Linked DNA regions of Homo sapiens: region 1 is linked to region 2. Evidence: promoter capture Hi-C in 16 types of primary human blood cells and fetal thymus (Javierre and others, 2016). All regions are on one chromosome and are shown on one strand. Each heading gives the region's core, a stretch centred on a gene start or on the middle of the fragment in contact. The rest is flanking DNA. Distances are from core to core; before and after follow the strand shown. Region 1 has its middle 58 kb from the start of GPR12. Region 2 holds the start of CDK8 (cyclin dependent kinase 8).

Evidence for each region. Contacts are between HindIII fragments. The CHiCAGO score rates a contact against its expected background, and 5 or more counts as called.
Region 1: a contact is called between a fragment that was not itself captured here and the fragment with the promoter of CDK8 in region 2, in 1 of 17 cell types (monocytes). The highest score is 6.6, in monocytes.

The regions. Positions count from the first base shown.
Region 1 is chr13:26,699,091-26,706,739 of GRCh38, reverse strand. No RefSeq gene overlaps it. Among named protein-coding and RNA genes, the nearest start is that of GPR12, 58 kb to the left of the region's middle. The HindIII fragment of the contact is 576 bases long and covers 4,156-4,731 here.
Region 2 is chr13:26,252,464-26,259,996 of GRCh38, reverse strand. It overlaps CDK8 (cyclin dependent kinase 8), which reads right to left and starts at 5,868. Exons shown (of 13, transcript NM_001260.3): 1 at 5,228-5,868. The coding sequence starts at 5,355. RefSeq lists a silencer at 5,264-5,863. The HindIII fragment of the contact is 11,884 bases long and covers 4,264-7,533 here.

The DNA of each region.
Region 1 (7,649 bases), core at 3,194-5,693, 450 kb before region 2:
CTACCTAATAATTCTTTATATTAAAATATTCCTATTTAAATAACCGGTCCAGCTTGTCTCCTGCTTGGAAGCTGACTGGCCGAGCCCCCTACTGGCAGGGTCACACAGGGGCTGCTGGTGAAGGCGGGAAGGCAGGGGACAGGGTCCCAGCCTGGTGTCAAGGCAGGGCGTGGAGGAGGATGTTGGTGCTAAGAGACTCCGTAACTGGAACAGAGGTCACATAAAGATCTTTTCAGGCCGGGCATGGTAGCTCACGCCTGTAATCCCAGTACTTTGGGAGGCTGAGATGGGTAAATCACCTGAGGTCAGGAGTTCAAGACCAGCCTGGCCAATATGGTGAACCCCTGTCTCTACTAAAAATGCAAAAATTAGCCGAGCATCGTGGTGGGCACCTGTAATTCCAGCTACTTCGGAGGCTGAGGCAGAAGAATCGCTTGAACCTGGGAGGCGGAGGTTACAGTGAGCCGAGATCACACCATTGCACACCAGCCTGGGCGACAGAGCAATTCCGTCTCAAAATAAATAAATAAATGAATATCTTTTCAGATGAGCATAATAAGAGCTTGCCACCAGCACATCCTCACTAAAGAAAGTTCTAAAATAACGTACTTCAGGAGCTCAAATGGAAGGTCTGAAATATACAAAGAAATGATGAGCAATAATAAAGATAAACATTGTGATAAATCTAAAAGAACACTAACTGCATGAAACAATTCTATCTTATGAGGTTAGGATAATGAGAAAAAAACATGTAAGTCAGACAAAAAAAGATTGCTATGGGCTGAACTCCCTCCCAACCCCCATAAATTCATATGTTGAAGTATTTGGTATTTGGAGACAGAGCTTTTGGGAGGTGAGTAGTTTACATCAGGTCAGGAGGGTGGATCAGGTCAGGAGGATGGGATTAGTGCCTTAGAAGAAGGGCCTCCAGGGAGCTCTCTCTCTCTCTCTGTCTCTCCCTCTCTCGCCCTCCATGTGAAGTCACAGTGAGAAGGCTGCCATCTGCAAGCCAGGAAGAGAGCCCTCACCAGACGCAGAATCATCTGGCACCTCGATCTCAAACTTCTAGCCTCCAGAACTGTGAGAAGATTAATCTGGGTTGTTTAAGTTGCCCAGTCTGTGGTATTTTGTGATGGCAGCCTGAGCTGACTAACACAGAGGCAAATGGGGTATAGCCCATGTGCCGTCCCAGAGGCATGTGAGCACGGGGCTGTGTCCTGGTGGTGAGCATCCCTGCATCCCCCTGCATGACCTGGCCGGTGTGCTTCTGATTGATCTATGTGTGTGCCACACTGGCTGTTAAAAATCTTTTTTTTTTTTTTTGAGACAGAGTCTCATTCTGTCACCCAGGCTGGAGTACAGTGGTACAAATTCAGCTCATTGCAACCTCTGCCTCTCAGGTTCAACTGATTATCCTGCCTCTGCCTCCAGAGTAGCTGAGATTATAAGCACTTGCCACCATACTTGGCTAATTTTTGTATTTTTTTAGAGACAGGGTTTCACCACATTGGCCAGGCTGGTCTCGAACTCCTGATCTCAAGTGATCCACCCGCCTTGGCCTCCTAAAGTGCTGGGATTACAGGTGTGAACCACTGCGCCCAGCCTAAAAATCATTTTTTATTACCTCTGGGAAAAATTATTGGTTAACTTTAGACTTTGATACATTGTTTCCGTATTACAATTCTTAGAGTAGTGATTTTTAAAAATATAAAAAATAACTTAAAGGAAAAATTAGAATGATTAAAAAAATCAATCCAAATGAAGGCAAGAAGGGAAAAGAATGAAAGAACAGACAAAGAAAAAGTACAACTTAACCTGCTAGCTCTAAACAACAGATATAAGAAGTCATATTAAACTTAAGTTTTTCCAACTAAAATACAAAAGCTGTCAGAATGGAAAGAACAAAAGTATTTGTTGTTAACAAGAGACATATCTAAAACATAAGGATGCGGAATGTTGAAAGTGAAAGGAGAGGAAAAGATAAACCAAGAAAATGTGAATTTTTAAAAGTCGGTGGAGCATTATTAATAGCAGACAAAATAGATTTAAGACAAAGAAAATTACTAGAATGTAGTTCATGTCATAAAGTCAGGAGTTCACTCCAGAAAGATACACACATTTGGTTAAAAGAACAGAGTCCAGAGTCAGCCTGCCTATCTCAGCCCGGCTCTGCTCCTTTCTGTGTGTGTGATCTTCAGCACATTACTTAATCTCTGCTATTTTCACTGTCCTCCCATGAAAATGGGGATAATACTCATACCTCCCTTTTTTTGTTTTTTTTTTTGTTTGTTTGTTTGTTTGTTTGTTTTGAGACGGAGTCTCGCTCTGTCACCCAGGCTGGAGTGCAGTGGCCCAATCTCGGCTCACTGCAAGCTCCACCTCCCAGGTTCACGCCATTCTCCTGCCTCAGCCTCCAGAGTAGCTGGGACTACAGGCGCCCGCCACCACGCCAGGCTAATTTTTTGTATTTTTAGTAGAGACGGGGTTTCACCGTGTTAGCCAGGATGGTCTCATTCTCCTGACCTCGTGATCCGCCCACCTCGGCCTCCCAAAGTGCTGGGATTACAGGCGTGAGCCACCGCGCCGGGCCAATACTCATACCTCCCTCTAAGGGTAGTTGTGAGGATATAACGGAGCTAGTATGTAACGAAGGCAGTTAGAACAATGCCTGGCGTGCGTGTTCATAGCAGGCACTACATAAATAGGACACGAAATTACAAACCCTAATGACAGGTATAAAAGTATGTGAAGGAAAGGCTGATAGAACTTCAAAAATAAAGAGATACTAGTCTGAATTCTTTTTCAGACAGAGTCTCGGTCTGTCACCCAGGCTGGAGTAAAGTGGCATGATCTTGGCTCACTGCAACCTCCACCTCCTGGGTTCAAGTGATTCTTCTGCCTCAGCCTCCCAAGTAGCTGGGATTACAGGCATGTACCATCACGCCCAGCTAATGTTTGTATTTTTAGTAGAGACGGGGTTTTGCCATCATGGCCAGGCTGGTCTCCAACTCCTGACCTCAAGTGATCCACCCGCCTCTGTCTCCCAAAGTGCTGGGATTATCGGCGTGAGCCACACACCTGGCCTGGACTTTTTTTTTTTTTTAACAGACATCCTCTCAGTGATTTAAAAAAATTCAGTAAGAATATAGAAGACTTGACAATACAAAAAAACTTAAATCAATGGACAGATATAAAACACTGCATCCAATAACCTCAAATACACTATTTTCTAAAACTGGCTATGTCCTGGATCATAAAGTAAATCTCATCAAATTTCATAGACAGCATGTATGCTATCATGCAAAGTGTCTTCTAAAACTACAGTGCAATAAAGTGAGAACTAAAATCCAAAAACCTAAGCAGAAAATCCTCATCTGTTTGCAAATTAAGAAACCTGCTTCTGAATCACTCACACATGCAAATTAGAAAATATCTTGAACTGAATGTTAATTAAAAGACTCCATATCCCAACTTACGGAATTTAATTAAGCAGAATGTAGTAAAACTATAGCCATAAAATGTGTATGATGGAAAAGAAGATTGAAAAATAATGAACTAAGAGTCCATCTCATGAAGTTAGAATAAGAATAGTAAAATAAACCTGAAGAAGTGAGAAAGAAAGAAATCACAAAATTCTGAGCACAAACAAATAAAATTGAAAACAAACATAATAAAGAGGACCAACACTAAAGGTTACTTTCTTTAAAAACAAAAACAAACAAACAACGAACTAATAAATTTGGCATAGCACCAGTGAGCTGGACTCAGAGGCAAAAGACAGCACAAACTGCTTTCAACAGAGCATCACGATAGTGGTTGCTGGCATTAAAAAGATAACAAGAGAATATAACAGATAACTTTTTCCTGAAATTTAGAAGAAATAGTCTAATTTTTAGGTAAAGGTAACTCATCAGAAATGACTCAAGAAGAAATAAAAAGCGACAATTGCCCTAAAATACAAAATACTAAAATACAACAAAAAAAACTGAATCAGCATCAAAAACCAAAAGAAAAGCCCAGCTTCAGATGGCCTCACTCTTGAGTTCAGCCAAACCTTAAATTAAAGACCAAAAGTGCCAATCTTATAAAAGCTTTTCTACAGAATAGAAAACAGCAAAAATGCTTGTTTGCTTATTCTATAAAGCTGACAAAGCTTTGTTCCCGAAATAAAAATAGTTTTAAAAAGGAAAATTGTAGACTAATCTCACTCATGAAAATAAATATAAAACTTCTAAACAAAATAGTAACAAAATAATGTAATCTGTAGTTAACGGGTTAAGGGAGAAAAGTCACATGAACATCTGAATAAATATAGAAAGTCATTTGTAAAATTCAACAACTACTTGTGATTTTTTAAACAAAATTTTAAACTAGAAATGGAAAGAAACTATTAATCTGATGAAGCTATTTTAAATAAAGATTAGAAAAGAAAGCTATTCATTACATAGATGTATGTATATATGTACGAACATGTGTATGTATGTGAAACCTATTTAAAATGAAAGGATACGGAAAGTTTCTTTTAAGTTATTAAACATATCCCAGGCAAATATAAATGAAAAGAAAGCTGTATATCAATTTTGGTATCAAAACTGTTTTAAGGCCAAAATTTTAAAAATCAGAAAGAAAAGGAAAGAGTATTAAAAATAAAAATATAAATTAGATATTTTAAAATATTCCTTTGAAGCTAACAGATCAAGCAGGCAAGTAATAACCAAAGGCATAGAAGCTTCGATTAATATTTTGAATAATCTTGGTTAATTAGAGATTAAAGAAAATGAGCATTGCCTCTAAGTGCACACAGAACAGTCATGAACACGAGCGATACATAAGCCCATGAAGGAGGGCCCAATGCATACCAAAGAATCAGCAACATTCAGCCCATCTTCTCTAGCCTTATATAAAATTTAAAAAATCGGTATCAAAAGTGGGAGGCTTAGGCAGGAGAATTGCTTGAACCTGGAAGGCAGAGGTTGTTGTGAGCCAAGATCGCGCCACTGCACCCCAGCCTGGTCAACAGAACGAGACTGTCTCAAAAGAAAAGAAAAAAAATCAATATCAAAAGGATCAATGTATATAATCCCATATAGATGAAAATCAAAAACAACACATACATCATCTTTGTAATAAAGAAGAAAAATAAGGAAAATTATTAAATATTTCACATTGAATGACAAGAAAATGACCACATGTCAACATTTGTAGGACTAAGAAAGTTATATTTAGAGGTAAAACTATAATTTTAAATGCATTCATTCAAAAACAACAAATGAGGTAAGCTCTGAGTCAACAGGCTTCACAAAGAAGAAGAGTAACCCCAAGCAAGCAAACACCCGAGATAAGGGCTGACACGAATGAAAGAAAGAATAATACAAAAAGAGAGAAGATGAATCAAACCAAATATTCATTTCTTTGAAAAAAGTTGGAATATAGAAAAGCCAGTAGTAAAACTAATCAAGAAAAAGAGAGAAGCAATTCAAATTTAAAAATATATATAAAAATAAAAATAAAATAAAAAGAGAAGGGGAAATGGACACATTCTCTTAAAAACTTGAAACGCTGGCCGGGCGCAGTGGCTCACGCCTGTAATCCCAGCACTTTGGGAGGCCCAGGCAGGTGGATCACCTGAGGTCAGGAGTTCGAGACCTTGCTGACATGGTGAAAACCCCGTCTCTACTAAAAACACAAAAAATTAGCTGGGCATGGTGGCAGGCACCTGTAATTCCAGCTACTCAGGAGGCTGAGGCAGGAGAATCGCTTGAACCCGGGAGGCGGCGGTTGCAGTCAGCTGAGATCACACCACCGCACTTCAGCCTGGGCAACAGGAGTGAAACTCTGTCTCAAAAAAAAACTTGAAATGATTAATTGACATAAGAATTAGAAAATCTGAATAGCTCAACAGCCAATTACCAAAATCTGAATAACCCTTTGAGGTAAGCACTATTACTCCCCCACTGCAGAGATGAGAAAACTAGAGAATTGGTCATTTGAGTACCTTGGCCAAGGTCACAGAACAGAGCCAGGATTTGAACCCAAGCAGTCTGATTCTGTGACTTCTCTCTACCCCATGGTGGTGGATTCTATGTGTCAACTTGACTGGGCCACTGGGTGCCCAGATTAAACAGTGTTTCTGGGTGTTTGCAGATGAGACAAGCATTTGAATCTGTGGGCTCAGTAGAGCAGACTTCTCTTCCTAATGTACGGGGGCCTCAGCCAATCCCTTGAGGGCCTGAGTAGAACAAAAGGAGAAAGAATCCGCCCCTTTTGCTTCCTGCCTGCCTGCGTGGGCAGATCTCATCTCATCTTCTCCTGCCCTTCAACTGGGATTTACACCTCGAGGCCCCTTGGTTCCCAGGCCTTTGGACACAGACTGGAATTGCACTACCCACTCTCCTGAGTCTCCAGCTTGCAGATGGCAGGTCATGGAACTTCTCAGCCTCCATAATAGTGTAAGTCAATTCCTCATAATAAGTCTCTTCATGTATATGTTAACTTGACTAAGCCACTGGCTGTTCAGATTAAACACTACACATTTTTTTAAATAAATACATATATACACATCTCCTACTGATTCTGTTTCTCTGTCAAACCCTGAATAATACAACCCCCCATTGCTTTACTGTTTTGCCTTGATAGTAGAGCAATAAGGCAAATTGTATGACAGTGAGCAGCAGCTGTGTCTTTCATCTCAACATCACTCTGCCTAGCATATCAAAGAGGATTTTTACATTTAAAAATAATTAGGACTTTTTTTAGATAGGTAAACGCTCACATGATGAAAAGTACTAAAAAGGTCTGCAGTAGAGATCTCCCTACCACTTTGCCCCAAGATACTCAGGGGCTCTGCCCCGAGGTAATGCTATCACTGTCCTGTGGATCATTTTAGAAATATTGTATGCACGTGTAAATGAAGATATATATTGTTTTTTCCTTTTTTAATCTAATAGATAGCGTATTATATACACATTTTCCTGCTCCTTGCTTTTTTTTTACTTTAACAATCTATCTTGAAGATCATTTTAACTCAATGAAAATGGCCTCATTCTTTTTACAGCTGCAGTGTATTCCAATGTGCATAGACTATAATTTAATCAATATTCTGCTGCAAGAACAGTAAGATGTTTTCTAATCTGTTGTTATTTCAAACAGTGCTGAATTGAATATATCTTTTTGTTCATGTGCAAATAAATCTGAAATGTATATCTGTTACAGTTATGAAAGCTGTATAATGAATTACCCTAAGTCTAAGTAATCTAAAATGGAGACCATATTTATTTTTGCTCAGAAATCTGTAATTTTGGCAAGCTGAGCTCAGTAAGGTTGGGCCCTGTCTGTCTCCCTGCAGTGGCTAAGACCCCAGCTGGGAGCAGACCCTCACCTGTGGCCTCTCTATGTGGCCTGGGCTTCCTCACAACATGGCGGCTGAGTTCCAGAGGTAGCATTCTGAGCAAGAGAGCCAAGCAGAAGCCTCGTTACCTTTTAGGGTGTAGCCTTGGAAATCAGGCACTTCCAAAATCCCACCAGGTTCAAGGAGAAGGAAACAGGGCACACCTCTTGATAGGGAGTGGCAAGATTCTGGAAGAGAATATAGGTCTAGAAATACTGTCATCAGCATTTTTGGAAAATCCAGCCTGCCTCAGATATGTTTC
Region 2 (7,533 bases), core at 4,619-7,118:
CTAAAAACCTTAACCAGTTGGGGACTTCCTTCTCTGTGTTGCCATATACCTTGCATTAATTATTATAGTGCTTATTGAATTGCAACATTTACATGTTTGTTTCCCCAGTAGTTATCTCCCCAAATAATGGAATACTTCATTCGTCTTTGCATTCCCAATACCTTGGACAGTGCTTGGCACATAGAAGGGTCCAATAAATACTTGTTGAATGAATGAGTAATTGACTTCTTCAAATGTTCAAAGACACAGTAAAAGTAATAACTCACATGAACAAATCCCAAATGAATTGATTTTCCAGTATTGCTACTAAAAAAATGAAATTTAAGCATGAAATCTCAACGTGGCCTAAATAGCGGATCTGAATGCACTGATATCTAAGGTAGGTAACTTCAACCACATGGAAATAAGAAGTACACAGCAAATACAGTCATCCCTCAGTATCCACAAGGGGTGCGTTCCAGGACCGTCCCCCAAAATCCACAGATGCTCAAGTTTCTAATATAAAATGGTGTCCTATTTGCATATAACCTACGCATATCCTCCCACACACTTTAAATCATCTCTAGATTACTTATAATACCTAATAAAATGTAAATGCTATGTAAACAGTTGTTATACTCTATTTTTTAAGGAAATAATGACAAGAAAAAAAATCTGTACATGCTCAGTAGAGATGCAACTATCCTTCCCCCTACCCCCTCGAAAATTTTTGAACCACAGTTGCTTGAATCTACAGATGCAGGACCTGCAGACACAGGGGACTAACTGTCCTCTTCTGTCACATTTTTAGAAGGTTATAAGGAATACTCTTTATTGTATACATGACTATTCCAGTGATAGAAATTACATATTGTATTTGGCATTTCTGACATCTAAAGAAATATTTAAATCAAAATGAACTTAGATACAGCATTCAGCCATATTCAGAAGGGGAAAAAGGTAATGGGATGCTCCAATGCAGGTTGAATCAGAAGAGTTCCTTTGTGCTGCCCACCAACTGAATGGTTCAAGGGAGTGGGAACAGGCACTAGTCCATAAATCCTCAATATCTTAAGAGATAAATACAGAGGAATGGCAAGGTAGCGTAAGACATGTTGGGTTAAGTAACTGATAGGTCTTTGGGAGTTACCAAGCTTTTTGGCAGTTGATGAGAACCAACGTTAAAGCATGAGACTAAAAAATATGGAAATGCACCATCATCTAAAGTAAAATTTTTTAGTGGTTGTTTGCCTAATCTTGCAAAAAATATTACATTTTATGTTCATAATTTTTACTTCCTCAAATCATAATACTAGAAAAGACCCTAAAAATTATATGCTGAAACCCCCCTACTAAGAGCTATAAGGGCAAATGACTTGCCCAAGGTCATACTGCTATCAGAAGCACAGTCTGAATTCAAATTCAGGTTTCCAGGATCGCTCATCTAGAGTTCTTTCCACTAGATGAAGTGCTTCCACATGGCTTTCATTAGAGTTTAGTCCTACACACACACACACACACACACCCCTCTAGATACACAAGTATGTTTGTGTATATACGTACAGACACACCCATATATCTACATAAACAGTTTTATAGCACTTGAAAAAAAGGGTGCTTCAGCAATATACCCAGAAAGTACACCAGTTTATTGAAGCAAATATTAATAGTTCTACAAGGTATTTATGTTTTTGAATAACCCACTAGAAATCAAACTCCATAACTATTTTTTTACTTATTCAATATATTAATTATAGGAAGCATAATGGTTAAGAGCATGGGCTCTGGAGTGAAAAACCTGCGCCTAATCCTCTAATCTTAGCTGACATTTAATTAGCTGTGTACTCATGGGTAAATTTGCTTAACCTTTCTAAGCCTCAGTTTCCTCAACTGGAAAACTGAAAAATAACAGAATTGACTTGATATACTTCTTGTGAGGACTAACTAGATGATGAATGTAAAGTGCTTTGCCCAGGACCTGAAACTTAATTACTCAGTAATTTAGCTATTATTGCCATTATCACTGCCTACTTACTAATCTCTGGGCTCTCAACAAATGTGCCCCAAAGAAAGTTGGCAGTATCTCTCTCTCTCTCACACACACACACACACACACACACACAAACACACACTCATTCCTCACTCATAATTATCTATTCTTTGGAACATAGATTATAACAGATTAAAAACCCTGCTAAGAAAATGCCTTTTGTTTTTCTTTTTTGAAGAAAAACCTCTTATCCCAAATTGATATTTTAAATTATCCAAACATTCAGTGCAAATATTGAAGTCTAGAATTTAAAAACACAAATTGTTTTCTGTCTTCTAACGCTCTCTTACTCTTTAAAACAAAATTAGTTTGGTTGCCTAAACTCTGCAAAGAGGAGATACAATCAACTCAGAAAGAAAATGAACCCCCCTGCTTCCCACTGAGTACTCTTTAAGTGTTCAGACACAAAGGACACTATCTCATTTACGGCGACACGAGTGAGAACAAATTAATCCCAAGATTTATTGTGCATTTCTTTAAACTCTATTATAATGTGAAATTAACAAAGTTATAAAAGGTCCCTTTTCCCTACTATGCAATCATGCCTCAAGTAAGTCAAAGAAATGAATCTTTGAAGCTATTTTATTTCCTAAAACTTAATAATTTAAGCAGCTAACTTCTCTGGTCTAAATTATTTTACCAATTATTCATGTTCTATGCTCACTGGGCAACTGAAAGGATACAACGTTTACATACATTCATTTCAATAGTCAAATATGTCTAAACCAAGCTTATTTGCGTTACTTCCTTTTATAGAAAATCTCAGGTTCTCCTTAAAGGTGTTACTGTCTGAGTTCCTAGAGAACAAATCTCAGCTGCAGAATATATAATGTAATTTGAAAGTAAATCAATACTAGAAACAAATTATTTGATCATCATCTTATTATGAAAGATTAAACAGCCACAAATTTTATTTTACCAGGACTAAAATGCATTAAATTACATTTCACTGACATAAGATCAAAAGAACCTCATAAATACTATGCGATACTTTACCAGAGTGAGGTTACAAAGAGAAGTCAAACCGAAAAAAATCCCTGTAATTTTAAAACTCTCTAAAACTATCTCTAAAAGATAGTAATTTTAAAACTCTCTTGACATTTGATCCATTAAAAATAGAAGTTCATCACATAAAGAGAATCATTAAAGACTGATGGAAAACAAACTCCAAGGATTACAAATAATAAGTTCTTTTTTCCAAAATGCAATGTTACTTTTCAGCTGTCACAGATGACTAAGAATGTCCATACATTATACCTTCAACTATCTTTAAATTCAAAGATATTGAAATTATTCTTTCAAATTATTCTTAACGGCCTAAATTAAAACCTGACCATAGAGATATAAAATGTGCTTAAGTACCCCCTGCCAATACACAGTATTAGTTTTCTAATAAAATGTACAACGTTAAAACAAATATGCATATTTTATTAGCTTAAATTGGTAATTTATGAAAACAGAACCGGCTTCTCTCACACAGATTAAAAATAATGCAAAGGCGCTAGAATTTTATATAACATGTCAGTTTGGTCAAATGTACTGTAATGTCTAATCTCATGGGATTGGGGATTTTATGAATATGCCCAAAATTACATAATACTGGGGGAAGGGGAGATGGTTTAAAGCTTTTGAGAAATATTGTATGGTGAGTTAACAAACATAATTTTAAAAATATATGTCATTACAGAGTAAAACTTCAACAATAAGTCTAATTAGACAACAACAGAGTCAGCAATATCTCCAGACGCTGATTTCTCCAGTGTCACCAGACTATCCATTCCGCTAAAAAGTACTTTTAAATACGTGCGGCGCCCAGAATATCAAGTTTTCAAATCCAAATCCCTACCTTCTGCCGATCTGTTCCACTTTACTGTTGCATAAAAGCACTAAAATACACATTCTAAATTAATTAGAACTCCTATCTTCCTCGTAGAGTCCATTGTAAATACTTTTAGAAAGACATTTCAGTAAATCTAAGAAAAATGTCCAATAAATATACACTTTCCTTTCCAACATCCAGAATACTAAAGTATTTGTAAATATGCGCCCCCCTACCCCACAGTAGGGAACTTCAGCTTTATGAATTTTTTTTTCGTGCTAATGTAGTCTGAACATACTCTCCTACCTAATTGGAAATTTTAAGTGATTAAACATCATACAGCAGGTGACTAAACTGGGATGCTCAAGTAAAGCTACTTCGTTTCTAATAAAATCCAAGGATTATATAATAAGCTTTGACTTTTCAATAATTTTCTATTCTGTCAAAGGCAACAGAGACAACATCCATTTTACAAGAAAACATGGAGTTAATAAAATATATTTTCCCCCCAACTAAGAATTGCCTTCTCTTTTGTCAATATTACAAGACATTCATCTACTGACAAAGAGAAAAAATGAACAATTCACTTGCCTGTTAAGAAACTAAATTGGAAGCATTACCAGTCATAGGTTTAATTAAGTTGTTACTAGGGAAGAATATTTAAAGCAAAGGGATTATTTAAAGTTCACTGCCAGCCGCTAAATTTGGGGGAAACCGCCTGAACGAGATAGTCCCTATGTCACTTGCCTTCTTCCCCACCACCCACCCTGCACCAAACCCCCATTGTTCTATGTAAAAATTCACAGCTAATAATATCTAAATAGCAATTGCAACATTTATGTTGCAGATGATCACTATGGGGAACTCTCTCCAGAACCACATTCACTCGCTGCCTTCCTTTCCTCAAATAAAATACAAATTTGATAAAAAATCGATCACAAACTGGTGGGGGAAAGGATCACAGCCTTCCTTCTAGACCGATGGATGACACTCCAGAGGCGGGTGAGGAAATCCCCAGAAGGTTACCATAATAAATCGACCAAGGAAAAAAAAAAACAAAAAACATTTAACCCGGCGTTTTAGAACGAATTTTTTCATGAATCAGCTTTGAAATCCTTGAAAAGTATACAGCCCACGGTGCAGAGGCTCATCTTGCCTCTTACCACCAGAGCAGAACACAGACGCGGCACGCAGGATTTCTCGTGGGTTTGGATCCCTCGTACACCACTTCCTCCCCAAACCTGGCTGGCGGAGCCAGAGGCCGGCGTCGAGGAAGTCAGAGCCCGGCACCCCGGCGGCCCGCTCTCCCTCCGGGCTACCTGCCTCGGCCTGCGGGAGCGCCGCCCAGCGCGGACACCGGCCCAGACACACACACTCACCCATCTTTCCTCTTGGCTTTGTAGACGTGACCATAAGTGCCTCGGCCAACTTTGCAGCCCTCGTATTCAAACAGGTCCTCGACCCGCTCCCGCTCGCTGCTCAGCTTCACTTTAAAGTCATAGTCCATTGTCACAGCCTCTGAGGCCGGAGAGCTGGGTCGGGGGGCCGGGGGGCAGGGGTGGGGACCGGGGAAGCACGGGCAGCCGCAGCCCCCGGGAACCCGCCCGCTCTACGCCCGCCGGCCGCAGCACCAGCCCGACTGATGCGGCAAGAGCAGGAGGAGGCCCCGCGAAAGCGCCAGGGACATCCAGGGGGACGGCGGGGCAGAGGCCGGCCGGGGGTGGAGGAACGGGGAGGATCCCCCGGCGAAGGAGAGCCGAGGGACGAGGGCTGGGGGTGGGGAGCGGTGTCTCTGCCCTTGTCCCCGCGGGCTCCCTGGGCGCCGGCTCCGCCGCTCTCTCCGGCCGCGCGTTCTGCTCCTGCTGCGGCGGGAGCGGCGGGGCGGCCAGGCGGGCTCTCGTCCTCTCACACGCGCACTCACGCCTCACGCTCTCACACACACGCTCACACTCACTCACTCACTCACTCTCCCATACACTCAAACAGAAGGGCAGAGCCGCACAACAGCCGGTACCTCCTCAAAGAGAGGAGGAGGGAGGGCACTCGCGGAACACGGCCGCGGCTGTCGCAAAAACGTCGCGAAGCCTCGGGCTGCCTCCGGGCCACACTCTAGCCCGCTCCCGCGGTGGCTGGCCGCCCCTGCTGGCGCTGGCACCCTGAGGACCGTGTGGAGGGAGCAGGGGAGCCACTGCCCAAAGCTGCCGCCAAATGCACCACGTGGAACCAGCCCCAGCGGTGGCCGGGCCCCAGACTACAATACCCAGAATGCACAGGCCGCCGCCGCTGCCGCCCCTTCTACGACTCCGCCCCACACGGTGGGAATATGGGAGCGTTGCATGATGGGACTCGTAGTCTAGGGTGAAATTCGTTTCAATCATTTGGGGAAAATTTATTTTTATTTTTACAGCGATCTAACTAGAGTCTGATTTCAGCCACAAACTTGATCAAAGAGGTGCACGTGGGAAGGAGAGTCGTTTGCATTAGAAACACATTTTGTGCCACTCTGAACTCCAGATTTTAAAGGCCACTATCATCGATAAAAGCCGGTATGATATTTGTAAACAGCTCGCGGGCCAGCAGTTGGGGTACTCTTGGTGTTCACAATCTGATAAGGGCTGCACAATGATGTCAACATACTGACATTACAAGCACCAATAAAAGTGAATCAATGACCAGTGTCCAAGCTACTCCTAAACATTGTTACTCTTGTGACAGATGACCATCCAAACCTTTCCTATCCATATACAGGAAGTATTGAGTACAGTACAGCCTTCTGCGATACTACCTATAAGAACACCAGTTTCTAGCTATGATTACAGAAAGGATCTAAATCCATGGGAACTAGTTTGTTAATAATCTTAAGGTAGCAATATGTCCTGCTTCAGGAGTCCTGGTATCTTGATACTAATCTATCATTTTATCTTACCCCCCTTGTCTATTTTTAATTTTTGGTTTTCCAATTGTTACCATTTCCACTAAAGCTCCCCACTTCCCAAAGGGAATATGAACTTTGCAGTTTTAATGTGAACTTTTTAACACTTTTTTTCCCACCTTTCCTGTGATATTTATCAAATTCCTTTCATCTTTTATTTCCTCTACCTTGCTAGATCCTAAGTTGTTATAGGAAGTCATATTTGCATCTTCTGTAAAACCTAGTGTCATGCCTTGATAATGATGCACAGTAAACACTTGTTAAATTAATGAATGAATAAACATGTTTATCTCAAAAAGATCCATATACCAATGATGATGATGATGATATCATCTTGTGAAAAAGCCTCCAAAGGGCTTTCTCTTATATAATTTTCCTTGGAGAAAATTAGTGACTTCACCACTGTGTAAAATTAAATTGTTTTTACCTAGCATACTATATAAGTATTGAGTATTTTACTATACTGGGTTTGAATCCTGCATTGTCATTTACTAATGTGTTCTTGGAGCCTAGAATTTTTTCTTTGCAAAGTGCAAAGCACAAAACAAATGTAGGCTTTCATTAATGGCATATTATTTGTTTCCATTCAGTGATGAAAATTGGGTAACTCTCTAGCAGAACTGCTCATTTGCATCCTTAAAGAATTACATCATTTTCTGAATATGGATTTAAAAGATTCTTCCTTAGACAATGTATTTTGTATTTTTTGAGGGATGTGTCTTTTGTGCACATATTTACTCATGGATCTTGAGA